2 separate regions of the Homo sapiens genome follow, and region 1 is linked to region 2. The links are contacts of gene promoters, found by promoter capture Hi-C in human tissues and cell types (Jung and others, 2019). All regions are on one chromosome and are shown on one strand. The core of a region is centred on a gene start or on the middle of the fragment in contact, and the rest is flanking DNA. Distances in the headings are between cores, read along the strand shown.

Evidence for each region. Contacts are between HindIII fragments. The study calls those that stand out against the background at their distance.
Region 1: a fragment that was not itself captured here is called in contact with the fragment with the promoter of SNRPA1 in region 2 in 3 of the 25 tissues and cell types used here (IMR-90 fibroblasts, aorta and lymphoblastoid cells).

What each region holds. Positions count from the first base shown.
Region 1 is chr15:101,796,141-101,800,127 of GRCh38, forward strand. No RefSeq gene overlaps it. Among named protein-coding and RNA genes, the nearest start is that of OR4F6, 5.4 kb to the right of the region's middle. The HindIII fragment of the contact is 5,482 bases long and covers 1-3,987 here.
Region 2 is chr15:101,293,589-101,297,905 of GRCh38, forward strand. It overlaps SNRPA1 (small nuclear ribonucleoprotein polypeptide A'), which reads right to left and starts at 1,660. Exons shown (of 9, transcript NM_003090.4): 1 at 1,509-1,660. The coding sequence starts at 1,590. SNRPA1-DT (SNRPA1 divergent transcript) reads left to right here and starts at 1,760. Exons shown (of 2, transcript NR_186319.1): 1 at 1,760-2,141. RefSeq lists enhancers at 614-1,245, 1,809-1,858, 1,919-2,008 and a silencer at 1,389-1,578. The HindIII fragment of the contact is 7,299 bases long and covers 1-3,339 here.

The DNA of each region.
Region 1 (3,987 bases), core at 1,237-3,736, 500 kb after region 2:
AAGTAAATATACCAAGCAAGAATTATAGAATTAATGTTATCAAAATGACATGAATGGTCTCATATACTAGGCAATACCTCCGCCTCCCAGGTTCAAGTGATTTTTGTGCCTCAGCCTCCCATGTAGTTGGGACTACAGGTGCAAGCCACCAATGTCTGGTTAATTTTTGTATTTTTAGTAGAAGCGGGGTTTCGCCATGTTTGCCAGACTGATCTTGAACTCCTGACCTCAAATAATCCACCTGCCTTGGATTCCCAAAGTGCTGGGATTACAGACGTGAGCCACTGTGCCCGGATTGGGGGTGGGAAACCCCAGCCTCCCTCTGTGCTCTTTGATAACAAGCTGGTCTGTGATTTTTGAGCATATCTTCTCTCATTAGTCCAAGGCACACATGGTTATCCAGGAAACCTCATCTCCCTTTGCAAACCACAGCCCTCCCATGCACAAACTGCTAGTAAACACCTGAGCATGCTATGCTACTTCAGATTTTTGCATTTCTGCATATGCAGCTTTGTCTACCACAGCTCAAAGCCAAGCTATCATTCAGCTGTCACCTCTTTGGTAAAGCCTCTTTACATTTTCCAGTCATATTTTATTACTTTGTCTTTTATGTGGACCTTTCAATACTATACTTATCACTCTATTTAAAAATATTTCTTTACCTTTCTCTCATCTGCACTGTGAATTCTTTGAGGGATAGTCCATGACTCTTCTTCCTCGTCTTCCTTCTTCTTTTTTATGATCATCTTCTATATAATAGAACTTGGTATATTACAATTCCAATTAGTGTTTGTAGAAGTGATTTGAACCCTGGTCATCTCCTCCTTTTCCCTACCATCTTACTCAATAACGTATAACATTAAAAAATTTTGTCAAGAGAATTAATTAGACACTGCAAAGGGCATAACTGAAACAGAAAATATACCCCAAACCTAGAAATGCAAATCAAAACCATGTGGACCAAGCAAATAAATGTGATACCTCCTTATTCCTGCAAGAATGGCCATAATCAAAACATTAAAAAAACCAGATGTTGGTGTGGATGTGTTGATCAGGGAGCACTTATACACTGCTGGTGGGCATGTAAACTAGTACAGCCACTATGAAAATCAGTGTGGAGATTCCTTAAAGAGCTAAATGTAGAACTACCATTTGATCCAGCAATTCCACTACTGGGCACATAGAGATAAAGGTGTCATTATATGAGAAAGATACTTGTACATGCATGTTTATAGCAGCATAATTCGTAATGGCAAAATCATGGAATCAACCCAAATGCCCATCAACAACAAGTGGATAAAGAAACTGTGGTATATATATGTGATGGAATACTACTCAGCTATAAAAAGTATTGAATTAATGGCATTTGCAGTGACCTGGATGAGACTGGGAACTATTATTTTAAGTGAAGTAAACTCGGGAATGGAAAACCAAACATCATATGTTCTCACTGATATGTGGGAGCTACGCTATGAGGATGCAAAGGCGTAAGAATAATACAGTGAACTCGGGAACTTGGGGGAAAGGATGGGAGAGGGGCGAGGGATAAAAATCTACAAATAGGGTGCAGTGTATACTGCCCGGGTGATGGGTGCACCAAAATCTCACAAATCACCACTAAAGAACTTACTCATGTAACCAGATACCACCTGTACCCCAATAACATCTGGAAAAAAAAAAAAGAAATCATAAGCTGAACTTGTGGCAGCCTGACAAACTTGCCTAAACCAGTTCATACAAAACTTGATACACTGCTTCTTGATTCTATACCATTAGACATGTCCGAAGTACTCCAACAAAAGCTTAAAGAAAAAAACACTAAGCTTCAAGCACAGCTCTTTCTGGTGTATATAAAACGCTTCCTCCTTAGCTAGTATATTTAACCAGTAGGGCTTCTCTCCTCCTTTCGGCTACCATTTATTAAGTGCTGTGTGCCAGGCACTATCTAATGTATACATAAAAATTATATGGAGCAGGCATTGTTATGCCCTCATTTAGAAAAGAAAATCTGGAGAGGTAAAACGATTTCCTATCATTTTGCCTAAAGTTTCCCTGTTGCATCTTTTAGGTGCTGTGTAGAGTATGATCCGAGACACAGTCATCCTTGTGCTAAGGTCAGCCTGTTTGCAGCAGCAAAACCCAGATCTGTGGTGATGTCAACTGCATGAATCCTGCCATTGGGTAATTTTAAAGACCTTGTGTAACTTCGAAGACCTTGCGTACTACTCCTAATGTGAGGATGAAGTTATTCTGTTCCAACTCCAGTGCTAGAATCATAATGTTGCTTCTTATGGAAAGTACAATTTAAGAACTGTGTCTTAGGTTAAATAAACAGAATCTAGGATACCTTTATAGACTATCTATGATAGGTTACTGGGTGAGCTTTTATTTTTTAACTGTCTGGAGATGGGGTAGGGAACAGAAACAGAGATAGGGATGATTGGCAGGGACCTTGGGGAAGAGACAGTGATTTGGCAGCCTTGTATGGAAACGTCCTCTTGTATTATGCCTCAGTTTTTGTTATGCCTTATGTATTCCCAGATTTCCAAAGGAGCTTAAAACTTCTCTATACTCCTCTACAACCATTTTTGATGGTGAGATTTTCTTTAGTATCCATTTCCAAGTGAAGTGCTTATCACAATTAACTATCAAATAAACTATTTGGGCAGAGCTTTCTGCTTTCCTCAAGTTACCCCTAGGGAATGGCCAGGGGAACTAACAGTAACCAAATATCTACTATACTTCAGGGCCTTCATATGTATTCTCATTAAAAACACATAAAACCTATGAGGTAGGTTTTGCTATCCCTGCTTCATAAATGAGAAAGCCTCAGCCTAGAAGTCACACACCTAGAAAGTGATTGATTTGGGGTTCAAACCAAATTCTGTCAGTTTCTTAGTCACAGCTTCTTGTTGCAAGTAACAGATATGAGAAGAGGAGACATCTTCACACAGAAGTATTTGGTGGAATTCTAGAGCAGAACCACCAGGAACTGCACCATGAATGGGAGAAGGAGAAGGAACTAAACCCACTATTTCTTCCAATGCTCGAGGTCGCGGGCCTCTCATTTGTATTTCTTTCTGTGTCCCATCCCTGTAGCTACATCACTTTAGTTTAAGGGACCAGCAGAATCTGACCAGCATTTATGAACCCCAAATTTCAAATTTCCAGGAGGGAGAATATGATTGGTTAGGTGAAGGCAGGATCCCCAGGATGCAGGGCCCTTTCTGTGGTTGAGTTATAGATCTCATCCTCTGCCACCTCTTCAGGACTTTTGCTCTTTCAGTTACTCCCTCCCCCTGCTATATTTTTAAACCATCCTTTCTTTTGGTTTGTTTATATCAGTATTCAAACATGGCCACATCTCTTCTAAGCTTGAAAACATAAAACAAATAAATATAATCTCTTTCTTGAATCCACTTTACTTCTAACGACAGATTAATCTCTGTATTAGTTTCCAAAGGCTGTCATATCAAATTAGTACGAATGTGATGACTTAAAAATATGTCGATGCCCAGTGCCATCAGCAGTGGATTGGCTAAAGAAAATGTGGTACATGTACACTGTGGGATACTATGAAGCCATGAAGGACAAAATCATGTTCTTTGCAGCAACATGGATGCAGCTGGAAGCCATTATCCTAAGTGAATGACTGCAGAAACAGAAAACCAAATACCACATGTTCTCACTTGTGAGTGGGAGCTAAACATTGTGTACACATGGTTATAAAAATGGGAACAATAAAGTTGGGTGAGGTAGCTCATGACTGTAATCCTGGCACTTTCAGAGGCCAAGGCAGGGGGAGGTCAAGAATTCGAGACCAGCCTGGCCAACATGGTGAAACCCTTCTTTACTAAAAATACAAAAATTAGCCAGGCCTAGTGGTACACACCTGTAACCCCAGCTACTCAGGAGGCAGAGGCAGGAAAATTGCTTGAACCCGGGAGGCAGAGGTTCAGTAACCCGAGATTGCACCATTGCACTACA
Region 2 (4,317 bases), core at 410-2,909:
TCCACTCTTGCATCTCCACAGGCCAGATTCTTAGAACCCATCAGAACAGCCTCAACATATCACGACAGTTCTCCCTCCCCTCCCCCAGCTCCAATTCAGAATTGAAGATCAATGGTTTAAATACAGTAATAAATCTGTGAACACTCAAATGTTAATTTGTCTAATTTGGGCATAATTATTGTGTTAGGCACTATAAGAAAAGAAATATTCCGAAGAAGCAAGGTCTACTAAAAAAAGAACTTACCCAAAGTTAAAGGACACAATTCAGAGCTGTACTACACGTACTGCATCAAAATACGTATTCTCAACACTGCACATGCTCCATAAAGAGAAATGGCAGAGATCATCAAAAGTGGTGAGTTGGGCCGGGCGCAGTGGCTCAAGCCTGTAATCCCAGCACTTCGGGAGACCAAGGCGGGCGGATCACCTGAGGTCGGGAGTTCGAGACCAGCCTGACCAACATGGAGAAACCATGTCTTTACTAAAAATACAAAAAATTAGCCGGGCGTGGTGGCGCATGCCTGTATTCCCAGCTACTCGGGAGGCTTGAGACACAGGAATCACCTGAACCGGGGAGGCGGCGGTTGCAGTGAGCCGAGATCACGCCACTGCGCTCCAGCTGGGGCGGAAAGAGCGAGACTCCATCTCAACACAACACAACACAAAACAGTGGGATTTCCCAAAGGTCGGCAAGAAATCTAAGCAGATCCCGCAGCGATGCTGCTCCGAGGCCATAGGTCCCCATGGGAACAAATCTCAGGCTACGACAGCATGGTCTTATCCTCAGAGAAGTTGCTCTATCACGTCCCTTTTAAAGCCGTCTCCTGAAATGCCAACTAGCTAGCTGCCCTCCCAGTATCTTACCAAGTCTTGCTAAGGTTGAAATAGTACAGGAATCTGAATAATTGCGAGCGCTTCCACAACTTACACACAGCACCCGGCGGTGCAAGCCTGGGTGACACAGTTCAATTTTTAAAACGTCTTCATATAGGGGAAACGCCAGACAATTAAAGCTACTAAGTAGAAAATACTGGAGGAAACAATCGCGGTTGTTCGGGGACTTAGTTTCCTCCCTCACATTAGGAATAATGAACACATATCCTATCTACGCTCAAAATATCATCTGGCGGCAAGTATTAAGAACCAATCCCGCGCCCTGCACTTGCGTTACAACCATTAATGAGCCGCTCTTCCGGGCCCTCAAACAGCCAGCGGCGAAACAGCCAAGCAAGGCCTAACAGGGCCCCACGAGGACGCACCAGGAAGTAATGAAGTCACCCGTGCCTGTCAAGAGGCACGGCGCTAACAGAAGGCTCCCAGGAGCTTAACCGGATGCTCATCTGGCAACAACGGCAAGAATCAGGCCCGGCGTTCCCTGCGCAGCCCGGTCGGAGCCCAGACAACCGGCCCGCGGGCCAAGCTCCGGCCTTCGGTGCACGCGGCAAAGCGCGGAAAATAAGGCGGCTCGGTGCCGCCTGGGGACTGGCCGCCCACGCCCCCGGACTCACCCCGGAGGTCCAGCTCCCGGTCGCGCACCGCGTTGGTGTACTGCGCCGCCTGCTCGATCAGCTCCGCCGTCAGCTTGACCATCCTGCAGCCTCCCGTTCCCCCGCGCTGTGGAAAGCCCGTGGCCTCCCGCCAGCGAGACGTCCCAGCGTGCCCCGCGCCCCGCCGCCAGGCAGCACCAATCGCAGCCGCCGAGTGCGCGCGCAGCTCGACCGCCAGGCCGAAGCAATCGAAGAGCCACGCCTCCGGGGGCGTTCTTGCCGGAAGTCGTGGCGCGCGCACAGGGGATGTGTCTCGTTCTGGGTTGTTTCCTAGGGTGTGTTTCGGAGTCTGGAGGACCCCTGATTCCAGACGTTGGTGTTTAAAAGTTAAGGCGAATGTGGAAACACCCGAGGGGAACTTTCTCATGCATTAGCGCACCTCGAGGTGGGAGGGGAAGCGGTGACTGTCCTCCCTCCACCAGCCGTCGCGGGAACCCGTGGGGTTCAGTGAAGGGTCCAGCAGTTCAGGTGCCCGCCCCGGGCCTGGGCCTTGGCTCCGGGCTACAGTGTGAGATCCCGGGCTAGGTGGCCCGCCTGGGGCAGGTCGCCGGGACAACCCCACCGCCCCGCAAGTCCAGCCCGGCCTCGGGCACGGTAGGGTTTGCGGTTAAGCTTGTGACCTTTAGACTTCTGAATATTCATATGTATGAAATGTGATATACATAAAAGTGTGCATATCAGGAATTTACAGTGATTAATGACCAGAGTGAACACAGCTGCGTAGCCGACACCGGGATCCAAAACACCGCTATTCTGAAAGCCTCCCTCTTTCCCAAAAGGCAACCGCGAACTCAACACTACAAATTCGGTTTGCTTGCTTTTGCTATAAATAGAATCATGCAGTATGCTTTTTTTTTTGGCCTAGTTTCATGGAGTCTATATTATGTCTGGAGTCCATCCAGGTTGCATACAGAGATGGTTTGTTTGCTTTTGCTGCTGAAGAGAATTCCATTGTATATATTATACCATAAATTACTTATTCTGCTGTTGATAGACATCAAAGTTGTTTTCAGTTAGGGCTATTCTGAGTAATGCTACTATGAATTTTCTGGTACGTGGTTCTGATGCACGTTTGCATGAGTTTGTCCTGGAGTGGGACTGCTGGGACATAGGGTATATCTATCATCAATAAGTAATGCCCAACAGTTATGCTAAGAGGCTGAAATAATATACACACTCCAGCGGTGTGTAAGGGTTTTCATGGCTTCCAGCTTCAGCCTTCTTGGCATTTTAACTCTATAACTTCAGCTATTCTGATGGGTGTGTGGTGGTATTGCACTACTGCTTTGCTTTGCTTTTCTCTAATAACTAATGAAGCTGAGAACCTTCTCATGTGTATGGTGCCCATTCTGATAGCTTCCTTGGTTAAGTGTTCTTTCGAGTCCCTGGCTCATTTTTTTTTTTTCCTTATGGAGTTGTCTGCCTTTTTTCTTATTGATTTGTGGAATTTCTTTATATATTAGGGATATGAACACACTCTGTGGCTTGCCTTTTCACTCTTAATGGTGTTGATGATTAGATTTTTTTTTTTTTTTTTTTTTTTTTTTTTTAGACAGGGTCTCACTCTGTCACCTAGGCCGGAGTGCAGTGGTGCCATCAGGACTCACTGCAGCCTTGACCTCTCAGGCTCAAGAGATCCTCCCACCTCAGCCTCCCAAATAGCCGGGACTATAGGCACAGGTCAACAGGCCTGGCTAACTTTTGTATTTTTTGTAGAGACAAGGTTTTGATATGTGGCCCAGGCTGGTCTCCAACTCCTGAGCTCAAGTGATCCACCTGCCTCAGACTCCCACAGTGCTGGGATTACAGGCGTGAGCCGCCTCGCCTGGCTGAGAAGTTTCCAAGTTTTATGTAGTTCAATTATTTTCTTTAGGTTAGTGGATTGGGTGTGTGTGCATGTGCATGTGCCTTAGGAAATCTTCCCTTACCCCCATCATATTTTCCTATGTGGTCTACTAGACGATTGTTTTGCTTTTCACATTTAGTTCTGCAATCCACCCGGAGATGATTCTCCTTGAACTTTTATTGAAGTATGATATACATATAGAAGAATGCAAACTGAACACACCCAACCAACTAGCATCCTCGTAAGAACAGGACATTGCCACATTCCAGAAGCCCTCCTCCTGTCTTCATCTAGTCACCACCCTTGCCCCAAGGGTAACCATTATCCTGCCATCTTGTATAGATTTGCTTTATCTAGTTTTGTATTTATGCAAATGAAGTACCTTGCATATTTTTTGCTAAACATTATGTTTGTGTGTAGATGTAGTTAATCTATTCTCACTGTAATATGGTATTTCATTGTGGATGTTTTACAATTTACTTATCCATTCTGCTGTTGATGAACATTTGGGTAATTTTCACTCTTTTATATTATAAATAGTGTACCTACAAACTCAATAATATATATCTTTATGTGAACACATATACTGATATACTCCCAGGGATGGAATTACTGGGTCATAGGGCTTACTTATGTTCAGCTTAAGTAGGACATAGTTTTCCAAAGTGGTTGCCAACTTAAACTCCTTGCTAACGTTTAGTATTGTCTTTTTAATCTTAGCCATTCTGGTAGATAGGTAATGGTATGAAATTGTGGTTTTAACTGTATTTCCCTAATTACTAACACAATTGAGAACTTTAAAAAATATATTTATGTTTGTTTGGATAACCTCTTTAATGAAGTGTCTGCTTAGGTGTTTTGCCCATTTTTCTATTGGGCTTTATTTTTAAACTGATTTGTAGGAGCTCTTTATATTTTTTCAAT